Linked DNA regions of Homo sapiens: regions 1, 3 and 4 are each linked to region 2. The links are contacts of gene promoters, found by promoter capture Hi-C in human tissues and cell types (Jung and others, 2019). All regions are on one chromosome and are shown on one strand. Each heading gives the region's core, a stretch centred on a gene start or on the middle of the fragment in contact. The rest is flanking DNA. Distances are from core to core; before and after follow the strand shown. Region 1 holds the start of PGPEP1 (pyroglutamyl-peptidase I). Region 2 has its middle 12 kb from the start of KCNN1. Region 3 holds the start of UNC13A (unc-13 homolog A). Region 4 holds the start of PGLS (6-phosphogluconolactonase).

Region 1 (2,982 bases), core at 104-2,603, 390 kb before region 2:
GGGCAACAAGAGCAAAACTCCGTCTCAAAAAAAAAAAAATACGGTCCATCTGGGCCAGTGATCCCACAGGATATGAATGCTATGCAGAGATGCTGTAGCCTGGGATAGCAGGTAGGGGCTGTGGCTCAGGAGGGGACCTCCTAACTCTATCCTTCTGTACAGCCAAAGTTTGAGTCTCAGCTCAGCCCCTTACAAACTGGATGACCTCTGTGAGCCTCAGTTTCCCTTTCTGCAAAATGGAGACAGTAAAGATGTAATCAGCTCATGCAAAAAGTGCTGGAATAAATAACCAGATAAAGGAAGGCTGGAAGGGATGGGGGCAGTGACCCTCCTCCCAATTATACACACCTGTTAAGCAGGTGCCTTGTTTCTTCCTTCTTCCCTGAATCTCCTGGATCAGCCTCAATCTCCCTTCAACAGCCACAAAACACCTGTGTGCACCTTTGCTGGATTTCCCACTCTGACCCCTCCAGACAGCAGGTCAAAATGACCCCCCCACTCCTTGACTCTGAGGCCCCAGCGGAAGTTGGCGCCCCACGTGGCCCCGAGGCGGAGTCTCAGGGAGGAGAAACAGTTGGTTTGGGGGTGGGGGGGAGTCGGTGACAGCAGGGGCCCTGACTCACCAACAAACAGCCCTGGCACAAAACACAAAAAGGTTTCCGCTGAAGACAGTCCCTGGGACAGCTGGGAGAGCCCGAGGTCCCCGGACCCCCACCTGCCCCTGCCTTGGGAGAGTAGCCCCCCAGGAGCGCAGGGCGCGGCGAGCAGTGACTGGGAGGTTCATTTGTCACTGGGACACTTCCTGCCCGCAAATCGGCCTTTGTCCCCTGGGGCCAGGGGTTGGGGGAGCGGTGTGGGGACAGGCTGGACCTCGGAAGGGGCAGGGAGGAAGGGTCCAGTCCAGCCCGCAGGCCAGACAGAGGAGGCAGGTGCCAGGAGGGTCACCATCCCCACCTTGGGAGGAAAGGACGCCAGGGGGGCCTGCGCAGCGCCGGGCTTTTGCCCGGCCCCCCAAGCCCCGCGCCCGACTGCCCTGACTCCCGACCCTGGGACCCCCAAGGCTCCTCCTCCTCCACTTTCCAGGAAGCCTGGGCTGCGCGGGGCTCCCGCGGGTGATGACACCTTCCAAATCTGAGAGGACTTCCAGCACCTGCCCCTCTCGGCCCCGCAGTCCCGGAGCCGCCCCCGCCTCTGCCCCCGGCCGCTGCCGCTACAGCCCCCATCAGCCAGCGTACCCGTCACTACCACCGCCTTCCTCGGCTGCTCCATGGCGGGATCGGGCTGTGCCTCGGACCTGCTTCTGTTGCGACTGGCGCGACAGCTGCTGCCGCTGCAGCCTCTCGGCCGCGCGAGGCCACGCCCCTGTCAAGCCCCCGGCCTCGCCCCCGGTCAGCCGCTCGGCGTGCGCGCCCCCGGGCCCGAGACGCAGCGTGCGCGCCCTGCGCCCCGCCCCCGTCGGCTAGGCCCGGTATTCCCCAGCCTCCGTTTCCCCGTCTGCAAAATGGGAACATCTTATGCCGTAGTGTGTAGCCGCTTGCACGCACTGAGCCAGGTGCTGGGGATGAGCCGGTCCTTTATTCTGCAAGGGTTCATTGAGGGCCTGCCCTATGCATGCATACTGCGCAGAATTAGGGAGGGAAGTCCCCGCGAGCAAGGCCCGTTTTCCAGATAAGGAAACTGAGGCACAGAATGCCACTTCCCCGAGGTCACTCGCCTCAAGGGGTCACAGGAGCAGCATTCAGGCCAGGAAGTTGGCGGGGGTGGGGGAGGACAGAGTAAAAAAGGAAAAACACGACAACCATATTTGTGTGGTGCCAGAAGTTTCTCTGCAGGCCCCCATGGTCCTAGGAGGCTAATGGGGGAGGGCGATTGTACCTGCTGTTCCCTCTGCCGGAACACACCCCGCAGGTACCTGCGAAGCTGGCCTCCTTCAGGCCTCAGCTCCAGTGTTCCAATGTCGCCTCCTCCCAGGGGCCCTCCTCCTGTCCTGGCTGTCACCTCCTCCGAGGGGTGAACTGTCACTTTCTCCTTGTGGCCTTCTCTGGCTATCACCTCCCTGCTATCCTATTACCTCCTCTGAGGGTTCCTTCTGGCCCTCCTTGGCTGAAATGACCTCACTGCTACCCCCCAGTGGTTCCATCTCATTCCCTGGTTCCATCCTCTTCATAGCAATAAAGCTCAGAAATAATTTCCTTTCTCTCTCTTTTTTTTGGAGACAGGGTCTCACTCTGTTACCCAGGCTGGAGTGCAGTGGCAAAATCATAGCTCTGTAACTTTGACCTCCAGGGCTCAACTGATCCTCACATCTCAGCCTCCTGAGTAGCTGGGACTACAGGTGTGTGGCACCACACCCAGCTAATTTTTGTATTTTTGTAGAGATGGGGGTTTCATAGTGTTGCACAGGCTGGTCTCGAACTCCCGAGCTCAAGCAATCCGCACACCTTGGCCTCCCAAAAGTGCTGGGATTACAGGTGTAAACCAGCACACCTGGCCAGAAATCATTTTTAATTTTTTTTAGCTTTTAAGTTTTGGGGTACATGTGCAGGTTTGTTATATAGATAAACTCGTGTCATGGGGTTTGTTGTACAGATTATTTAGTCCCCCAGGTATTATTAAGCAGAAATTATATATGTATTTATTTATTTGAGACGTAGTTTCACTCTTGTCACCCAGGCTGGAGTGCAGTGGTGTGATCTTGGCTCACTGCAACCTCTGCCTCCCGGGTTCAAGCAATTCTCCCACCTCAGCCTCCCAAGTAGCTGGGATTACAGGCGAGTGCCGCCATACCCAGCTAATTTTGTATTTTTAGTAGAGAGGGAGGTTCACCATGTTGGCCAGGCTGGTCTCGAACTCCTGACTTCAGGTGATCCACCCTTTTCAGCTCCCAAAGTGCTGGGATTACAGGCGTGAACCACTGCCTCCGGCCCCCTCCCCAGGTATTATTAAGCAGAAATCATTTAGTATGGTCACAGCCTCTCTGGT
Region 2 (3,014 bases), core at 39-2,538:
CTTGCTCAGTGTTTGTTGATTGACTAAATGACCACCACCTCTGTTTTCTCCACACCCCCATGGGCAGCTTAGTGCTGACCCTGGATGTCAGTCAGTGTTCACCAAGGAGGCCTGGCTCAGTGGCTCACGCCTGCAATCCCAGCACTTTGGGAGGCCAAGACAGGTGGATCACCTGAGGTCAGGAGTTCGAGACCAGCCCGGCCAACATGGGGAAACCCCATCTCTACTGAAAACACAAAAATTAGCTGTGCGTGGTGACGCATGCCTGTAATCCCAGCTACTTGGGAGGCTGAAGCAGGAGAATCGCTTGAACCCGGTGGGGTGGAGGGTGGAGGTTGCAGTGAGCCAAGATCATGCCACTGCGCTCCAGCCTGGGCGACAGAGTCAGACTCTGTCTCAAAACAAACAAACAAAACAAAACAAAACAAAACTAAAAAAAAAAAGTTCACTGGAGAAAGGAGCACAGGAGCTGCCTTCCACAGAGCTGGCCTACCCTGGGGGCTGTCTCCAGCGAGACCACGAGAGCCGGGAAGTAGAGGCTGTGTGTGGGGGGCGGGGGCGGGAGTGGTGGGACAGAGCTCTTCCAACCTGGCTCAACACCCCACTTCTAGGTCATCTGGCCTCTCTGAATAGTTTCCCCAACTCCAGTGATCAAAGAAAGTGGACAGTAACTCCCCGGAGGCTCTAGAAAGCATAGTCCTTGCTATCATCATCATGATATATATGATATAATAATAATTATATTATTATTTTTTTTCTTTCTTTCTTTTTTTTTTTTTTTTTGGAGATGGAGTTTCACTCTTGTTGCCCAGGCTGGAGTGCAATGGCACAATCTCGGCTCACTGCAACTTCCGCCTCCTGGGTTCAAGTGATTCTCCTGCCTTAGCCTCCCAAGTAGCTGGGATTACAGGCATGCAGCACCATGCCTGGCTAATTTTGTATTTTTAGTAGAGATGGGGGTTTCACCCTGTTGGCCAGGCTGGTCTCGAACTCCTGACCTCAGGTGATCTGCCTGCCTTGGCCTCCCAAAGTGCTGGGATTACAAGCGTAAGCCACCACGTCTGGCCTTTTTTCTTTTTTTTTTTTTTAATTAAAGAGATGGGGGTCTCGCTCTGTCGCCTAGGCTGGAGTGCAGTGGCCATTCACAAGCGTGATCATAGCTCACTGCAGCCTCGAACTCCTGGACTCGATACTCCCACCTTAGCCTTCCGAGTAGCTAGGACCACAGGTGCACGCCACTGTACCCAGCTTGTTATTATTTCAAAAGCTGGCACTTTTTCCTCAGGTCACCTTTTTTTTTTTTTTTTTGAAACAGAGCTTTGCTCTGTCGCCCAGGCTGGAGTGCAGTGGCGCGATCTTGGCTCACTGCAACCTCTGCCTCCCGGATTCAAGTGGTCCTCCTGCCTCAGCCTCCCAAGTAGCTAGGATTGCAGGTGCCCACCACCATCCCCGGGCAATTTTTGTATTTTTAGTAGACACGGGGTTTCGCCATGTCGGCCAAACTGGCCTCAAACTCCTGACCTCAAGTGATCCACCTGCCTCAGCCTCCCAAAGTGCTGGGATTACAGGCGTGAGCCACCTAGCCTGCCCAGTTACCAATTTTTCTATCCAACCCCTGAGCCACCCCCACCCCCAAAGGCGACCCAAGTCTGGGATTCACTCACCCTAGGGTGCAGGGGTCTCCTCGCCGAGCCACTGCAAAGGGGCTGTCCCCTTCAGTCCTGCTGGTGACCACTTGACTGGGAGAGAGGGTGGCTGCTGCTGCCTTTCCTGTCCCTTTGAGATCTGTAATGATCAGACAGGGGGTGCGGGGTGGAGGCGGGGACCCAAAAGAGTAGGGTGCAGACAGCTCCCGGACTACAGTGGTCTTTCTTATTTTTTATTTTTTTGAGACAGAGTCTTGCTCTGTCACCCAGGCTGGAGTGTAGTGATGTGATCTCAGCTCACTGCAACTGCCGCCTCCAGGGTTCAAACAATTCTCCTGCCTCAGCCTCCCAAGCATCTGGGATTACAGGTGCCTGCCACCATGCCCGGCTACTTTTTGTATTTTTAGTAGAGATGGGGTTTTGCTGTGTTGGCCAGGCTGGACTTGAACTCCTGGCCAGAGGTGATTCACCTGCTTCAGCCTATTACGTACAATGGTCTTTACAGCAGATCTGCGCTCTGGCTTGGTGTTGCTGAGCTGGGTCATCTCCTAAGCTTTCAGGAAGCTTAAGAACAGTGGCTTTATCACTCCAATGGGGCCCTGGGCTAGCCCCACCTCTTCCATGTCCCCTCCCTAAGGCCACTCCTCCTTTCACTGGGCTCCAGAAGCTAGACACTGAATGCTTTATCTGTCTTTCCCAATGCTGTTCCTGCTCACCCCCTCACATTGCCCCTAGTTCCTTCGCCATGGGGAGATCTAGGTGGGTGACATTCAGGGAGGTGACATTTTGTCACCCAGGCTGGAGTGCAGTCGCATGAACATGGCTCACTGCAGCCTTGACTTCCCGGGCTCAAGCGATCCTCCCACCTTCGGCCCCCAAGTAGCTTGGACTACAAGTGTGCACCACTACACCTGGCTAATTTTTTTAATTTTTTGTAGAGACAGGGTTTCAGTACGTTGCCCAGGCTGGTCTCGAACTCCTGAGCTTGCCTCGCCCTTCCAAAGTGTTGGGATTACAGTTGTGAACCACCTCGCTTGGCAGAGCAGCTGAACTCTTGCTCCCCAGCTCTGAAGCTGCCCTGGGAGCCTGTAGCTCCCTTGGCGTGCTCCCTCCATCTATTTAGTGCTGTCTGCAGAGGGCTTATAGAAGCACATGGTACCCAAGTCCGATCCTGGAGAAGAGGGCAGAAAAGGACACCCCATGGAGGGCAGGGGCAATGCCAGACCCCAGAACAGGACTGAAGGGGAAACCCCCAGCTGCCCTTTCTCTCACCAGGACCTGGGATCGGGGCAATGGTCACCTTGGATGGCTCAGGGGCCACCTGTTCCAGCCAGGGGGACTTGGTGCTGACCCTAGCCTTGGGAGGGC
Region 3 (3,026 bases), core at 167-2,666, 270 kb after region 2:
AAAAAAAAAATTACAACTGGTTTCACATGTTAACTCATGTAATACCTCCAGCAACCTTGTGAGGCAGGACTTGTTATCATATTCATTCTACAGGTGCGGAAACTGAGGCACGAGGAGGTCACAAGACCTGCCCAAGGCCATGCTTGTGATGAGAGACAGAGTTTGGTTTTGAACAATGGCCTCACTCAACTCCATGCACATTCTGCATTTATGAAGCTCTTTCATGTGGGCTGGGGGCAGGAGACCCTGTGGGGCTCAGCCTTTCATGCTAGTTTAGGTGCCAGTGATACAGCGAGCAGGTTGCAGGGCAAGGGGCCCACATGGAGCTGCCCAGTTTGATATGTGGGGAGGGGGCCAGGCGCAGTGGCTCAGGTCTGAATCCCAGCACTTTGGGAGGCCGAGATGGGCGGATCCCCTGAGGTCAAGTGTTCAAGACCAGGCTGGCCAACATGGTGAAACCTCGTCTCTACTAAAAATAAAAAAAATAAAATAAAAAAAAAAAGCTGGGCATGGTGGCATGCGCCTGTAGTCCCAGCTACTCGGGGAGGCTGAGGCAGGAGAATCTCTTGATCCCAGGAGGCAGAGGTTGCAGTGAGCCAAGATTGCGTCACTGCATTCCAGCCTGGGCTGCAGAGGGAGACTCCATCTAAAAAAAAGAAAAGTGGGGAGGAGTGGCAGAGTTTCGTTCGGGTCAGGGCCCAATCAGAGGAAGGGATAGGGGCTGGGGGAGTCCAGAGAGGAGAAACAAAGGCTCAGCTTGGGGCAGTCAGGGAAGCCTTCCTGGAGGAGAGGATATTCAGACAAGACATTGATGGATGAAAAGGAGTTCAGAGTGTGGGCAAGGACCCATGGGCTGGATGGCTTAGAGACATAGAGAGAGACCTAGACAGGATGCAGTAGAGCTGCAAAAAGACTTTACAGAGAGAGGCTAAGAGACACATGACTGAGAGAGCAGTGGACAGAGTCAGAGGAACAGAGACCCAGGGAGAGAAAGAGACCAGGCAGTAGAGTTAGAGAGACAGAGACGTAGAGACAGAGGAAGAGAGATACTCAGAGAACAGGACCATCTGCCCGGTGCTGGTGCCGGGCGTACACACAAGAGCTTGCATTTGCCTGTACTTGCTTGAGTATTGCAGGGAGGCGTTTGCCCAGGTTACCAGGGCAGGAATGTCCATGCATGGGTGGCGGGGGCACGTGCACCATTTCAGTGCAGGTGAGGGTCTGCACAGGAGGAAACCTGCTTGGGGGCCGCCGTCGCCCCTTGTCCCCCTGCAACGAGGAGGTGTGGGGCGAGGCGCCCCTTCCCGGAGCCAGGCCCTTTAACGCCCCCCCAGCCCGCAGCGCCCCCGCCCCATCAGGCGTCCCTGGGCTCCGCCTGCCCGCCCCGCATCAGCGCCACGTCAGGCGCTGTCCGCGCCCCCGGTGCTGAACCAAGATGGCCGGTGGCGGCCGGGCCCCGGCGTGAGCCAAGCGCGGGCTGCAGCCGGGAGATGCCCCAGCCCAGCGGCCGCTGAGCCCGACCCGACAGAGCCGGCCCGGCCGCCTCCGGCCCACCTGCGAGCTCGGAGACATGTCTCTGCTTTGCGTTGGAGGTAGGAGGCGAGGCTGGGGGTCGGGGGACCCGTGTGGACGCGGGCTGGGGTCGGGGTCCGCGTGGATGCGGCTCCCAGGGGGTTCCTGGGGGGTGACCCGAGTCCAGGTGGCTGGACTTTTGAGAGGGGTAGCCCTTGTCGACGCAGCTGGGCCCCGGAGGGGGTGATCCGTGTAGACGCGGCAGGGCTCTCGGGGGTCCTGGTGGCCGCTGCTGGAGGGGTCGTGTGGACGCGGCTGAACGCGGAGGCCCGTGTGGACGTGGACGGGTATCCGGGGTTCTACCCGGAAACGATCTAGACTGGGGCGTCTGTGTAGACCAGGTTTTTAGAGGGTCAGTGAGGAAGAGTCTGGGCTCGGTAGTTTGATTGAAGCCTGCAGGGGTGCTTGGAAGGGGTCTGGTGTTGTGGGCTGGGTTACGGGTCCTCATGGACGCGGACCCGGCTGGAAATTCGAAGGAGAGTGCGGTGGGAGGGTTCTCCAAGCCGTGGGGATGTAAGATATAGGTAGAGGGGCTTGGCCATCAGGGCATCCACGAGTTCTAGGACTCTCCCAGCCCTAGGTGTAAAGAGGACTGGAGTGGGGGGAGTGTGGAGACAGGAGACCCCTCCCAGCGTCCAGAGAGGGCTGTGACTGGAGGTCTGGGGGCGCTTTTCCAGTTAACTCTTTGGCCTCCCGAGTGAGGGGGTTGGAGGAATGTCCAGAAGGTCTTCCCGCTCCCTGCCCCCTCCGGTTCTCCCAAACACGTTTCAGGGCCTTCTCGGCAGGGAGCCTACTTCTTGGAAGAGCAATGTCTCCTGGTCCCCCTCCTGGCCCATCCTCACCTCACCCACTTTGCACTGGAGAGAGGGAGGGAGGGAGACGTGAGGTGGGGGGGGAGCTATTTTGGGGCCAGAACGCCATCTGCACAGAGGCCCACGCCCAGGCCCACGCTCTGCGTTGGGGTTGGAGGAGGGAGGGAGACGTGGGAGGGGCATGACCCCCCACCCCACACCTTTATGGCTCTGGGGTCGTGGGGAAGCCAGCCCAACCGAACCCAGGCGTTCTGGGCACTCCCGTTTGAGAAATCAAACTCTGGGAGACCTTGGGCGGCAGGGGTGGATGTGGACCGCCGTTCCACGCCTACAGAGCTCTGAACCCCTGGTTCTTAAGGACTGGGGTCCCCCCGTCACTCCCACCCATTTCAAGAAGGCTGGGGTGGGGGAAGGGGTGTGTCTGCCAAGCCTGAGACTGCAGGCTTCGGGAGACCTCGGGCGACAGGAAGCGTGCGTGTGCTGAACTCCTGCTGCCTGGACACAGGGTGGGCAGGCCGGGGAGCCGGGAACCGCCCCCGCCGCCCCTCCTCCTCCCTCCCCTCCCCCTCGGCCGATTCATTCACAAACCCTGCCCCGCCCGCCCGCTCCCCGCCGCGGCAGCTTCCGAGTGCAAATCCGGCC
Region 4 (3,305 bases), core at 293-2,792, 440 kb after region 2:
TCGAAATCCTGACCTCAGGTGATCTACTCACGTCGGCCTCCCAAAGTGCTGGGATTACACGCGTGAGCCACCGCACCCGGCCAAAACTTTTTAATGATGCTCTTGGAAAACACACACAGGAAGGCGGAAGTTAAATGTGTACCCAACTACGAAGTCAGATGAGGCAGGATCACACCCTGGCTGCCCCTCTGGTCACTAGATGCCTTGGGCAGGTAAGCTCACCTCTTCTGGCCTCAGTTTCTCCATCTGTGAAATGAGTGTAACATCTCATAGGCTGTGGTACGGACTCATGAATTGATGCATATAAAGCGTTCAGTAAGCCTTTTCTCTTAATAAAAAACCCACAAAACCATCATCAGCTCAAGATTCTATGCAAAGAGAAGACGGCACACCCAGCATGGGGTGTCCCTTGACGCTGCCAGACTCAAGTGACTTGAGGTTCCTGGCCTTTGAGCCCGCCCCTCCCACTCTTCCCTCGGCCAGGCCAAGGCTCCTCCAAGCCTCAGTTACCCTGTCTTTAAAAGAGCGCGCTCCTCTGATTCTATAGAATCCTGAGGCTCAAAGCCAAAGATGAACAGCCTGGAAGCAGAGCCATCAGAGCGGCAAAGCTGCCCAGGGATCCCCGAGAACTCGCTGGGGTTAGAGATCAGGACCCTGAGATTCAGGCTCTACACCTGATTCCTCGTGCCCCCGTCCGCTACGGGGCTGAGTTATGGGCATCGTTTGACATGGGCCACTCGGATTCCCTTCCAGGCCCTTGCCCGTGCCGTTCCCTCTGCCTGGCCACCGGATGAAGCAGGAAGACGGACTGCAAGTAGACCATTTCTAGCCCTGCCTAGATAAAGGCAGAGGGCGCAGTGAGGTCCTGCGGGACCCACTGTAGGCGGGGTTCAGGAGGCGGGCGAGCCCTGTCGGCTAGACCCCCAGCGGCCCCCGTAGTCGAGGTGCAGGCAGTGGGCGTGACCATCTCGGCATGACCCCCAGTGGCCCCCGTAGCCGAGGGCAACCGGTGGGCGCGGCCCTCTTGGCATGACCCCCAGCGACCCACGTAGCCGAGGTGCAGGCAGTGGGCACGGCCCTCTTGGCATGATACCCAGTGGCCCCCGTAGCCGAGGTGCAGACAGTGGGCGCGGCCCTTTCGGCATGGCCCCCGGCGGCCTCCGTAGCCGGGGTGTAGGCGGTGGCTGTGGCCCTCTCGGCGTGATCCCCGGCGGCCCCCGTAGCTCTCACCCGGTAGAGGCCGTACGTGCTCTCGGCGTGATCGAAGGGCACGAGGCGCTCGTCGCAGAAGCCCAGCGTCCAGCGCGCTAAGCTAGCTGGCCCGGCAGGGGCGACGGCGGCGGGTAGCTCGCGGGCTAGCATCGAGACGAGGCTCCCGCCCGACAGGCCGAGCGCGAAACGGGCGCGGGCCCCTGCCAGGCAGCATGCTGCGCGCTGGGCCACCAGCTGCGCTAGCGCCGCACCCAGCTCCTGGGAACTCGAGAACACCGAGATGAGGCCCGGGGCCGGCGCGGCCATGGCGAGGGCGGCGGCGGGGAGGAGGAAGCGCTCCCTACGGCCGTCGCTAGTACGCCTGCGCAAGGGCCGGCCCTGCCGCTTGGTTTCGAGTACTTTGGGTGATTGTCTTTGGCACATGCGCAGTGAGGCAAGTGAAGCACCGCGAAGGTCGGGCAGTCGGTCCGGCCCTACCCATTGAATCTTTGCCTGCTGTGCCTGAGTCGAAGTGAGTTCGGGAAGCCAGTGCCCGAATGCTCAACCTTGCTGTATCAGGGAGGGCCGGAGAGGGGAGCTCAAGAAGAGGACGTCCTATCGAGGTGGCAGGGATTTTCTGAAGGAGGGCGTATTTTGGTGAGTTTTAAAATTCCTGCACCGCCGGGCGCGGTGGCTGACGCCTGTAATCCCAACACTTTGGGAGGCCGAGGCGGGCGGATCACGAGGTCAGGAGATCGAGACCATCCTGGCTAACACGGTGAAACCCCGTCTCTACTGAAAACACAAAAAATTAACCGGGCGTAGTGGCGGGCGCCTGTAGTCCCAGCTACTCGGGAGGCTGAGGCAGGAGAATCGCTTGAACCGGGGTGGCGGAGGTTGCAGTGAGCCGAGATCGTGCCACTGCACCCCAGCTTGGGCGACAGAGCGAGGCTCCATCTCAAAAAAAAGTAGGGGATGAAAATATGCTTGTTGAATTTTTTTTTTTTTTTTTTTTACATTTTCCGGACGGACGGGCTCTTGCTATATGGTCTAGGCTGATCTTGAACCCCTGGGCTCAAGCGATCTTCCTGCCTCGGCCTCCCAAAGTGGTAGCATTCAGGCGAAAGCCACTGCGCCTGGCCATGCTTGTTGAATTTTTTAAGCTAACCCTCCTAGTGTGGTGGTGTGTCCCTCTGAGTGCCCAGAAAGGCCTCCAATCGAGTTCTTGCCTGGACAGAGGGCTGGAAGGGGAAGAAGGCCTGGTGGGCCTGGGGAGGCTGGGCCACTTCTGAGAGTGGGATATTTCAGTGATGTGTGTAAGCGCAGTTCAACTCACACAGGTAGTGGATTTTAAAATCAGTAGCAAATTAAGAAAACAATTCCATTTACCATAGCATCATAAAGTATAAAGTAGGCATAAATTTAATAAAAGAAGTACAAGACTGTACTTCTTGAGAGCTGTAGCTGGGCTTGGTGGCTCACAGCTGTAATCCCAGCACGTTGGGAAGCCAAGGCTGGACCCGGTGGCAGCTGCCTGTGGTCCCAGCTACTTGGGAGGCTGTGGTGGGAGGATCACTTGAGCCCAGGAGACTAAGGCTGCAGTGAGCTGTGTTCCTGCCATTCCACTCCAGCCTGGGCAATAGAGTGAGACCCTGTCTCGAAACAAGCAAAAGAACTAAAACTTTGGTGAAAAAAAAAATTAAAGATGATCTAAATAAATGGTAAGACATTCCACGTTCATGGATTGGAAAGTATAATATTGTTAAGATGGCAGTACTCCACAAATTGGTCTACGGATGCAATGTAATCCCTTTCAAATTTACAATGTTTTTGTTGAAATTGACAAATTGATCCTAAAATTAATAATAAATTGCAAATGGCCCCAAAATAGCCAAAACAATATTGAATAAAATACGAGGACTCATACTTTCTCATTTCAAACAATAAAAAGGTACAATAACCAAAACTGTGGTATTGGCATAAGGATAGACATATAAATAAATGATTGGAACTGATGCAGAAATAAACCTATGCATATATGGTCAACTCATCTTTGGCAACGGTGCCAGGACTATTCAAAAAGAAAGGAGGGCTGGGCGTGGTGGCTCACGCCT

What was found. Contacts are between HindIII fragments. The study calls those that stand out against the background at their distance.
Region 1: a contact is called between the fragment with the promoter of PGPEP1 here and a fragment that was not itself captured in region 2, in 3 of the 25 tissues and cell types used here (H1 embryonic stem cells, dorsolateral prefrontal cortex and spleen).
Region 3: the fragment with the promoter of UNC13A here is called in contact with a fragment that was not itself captured in region 2 in 4 of the 25 tissues and cell types used here (aorta, dorsolateral prefrontal cortex, heart left ventricle and 1 more).
Region 4: the fragment with the promoter of PGLS here is called in contact with a fragment that was not itself captured in region 2 in 2 of the 25 tissues and cell types used here (dorsolateral prefrontal cortex and lymphoblastoid cells).

Annotation. Positions count from the first base shown.
Region 1 is chr19:18,338,969-18,341,950 of GRCh38, reverse strand. It overlaps PGPEP1 (pyroglutamyl-peptidase I), which reads right to left and starts at 1,353. Exons shown (of 5, transcript NM_017712.4): 1 at 1,236-1,353. The coding sequence starts at 1,269. RefSeq lists an enhancer at 796-1,483 and a silencer at 1,315-1,504. The HindIII fragment of the contact is 61,917 bases long and covers 1-2,982 here.
Region 2 is chr19:17,953,332-17,956,345 of GRCh38, reverse strand. It overlaps a transcript of KCNN1 not described here. Among named protein-coding and RNA genes, the nearest start is that of KCNN1, 12 kb to the left of the region's middle. The HindIII fragment of the contact is 4,437 bases long and covers 1-3,014 here.
Region 3 is chr19:17,686,744-17,689,769 of GRCh38, reverse strand. It overlaps UNC13A (unc-13 homolog A), which reads left to right and starts at 1,416. Exons shown (of 44, transcript NM_001080421.3): 1 at 1,416-1,592. The coding sequence starts at 1,571. RefSeq lists a silencer at 1,898-2,080 and enhancers at 1,314-2,274, 2,275-3,026. The HindIII fragment of the contact is 19,419 bases long and covers 1-3,026 here.
Region 4 is chr19:17,509,886-17,513,190 of GRCh38, reverse strand. It overlaps PGLS (6-phosphogluconolactonase), which reads right to left and starts at 1,542. Exons shown (of 5, transcript NM_012088.3): 1 at 1,231-1,542. The coding sequence starts at 1,518. PGLS-DT (PGLS divergent transcript) reads left to right here and starts at 1,302. Exons shown (of 3, transcript NR_147835.1): 1 at 1,302-1,848. RefSeq lists enhancers at 69-724, 555-814, 777-1,071, 1,565-1,814, 1,382-2,038 and 1 more and silencers at 777-1,071, 1,315-1,364, 1,375-1,504. The HindIII fragment of the contact is 13,558 bases long and covers 1-3,305 here.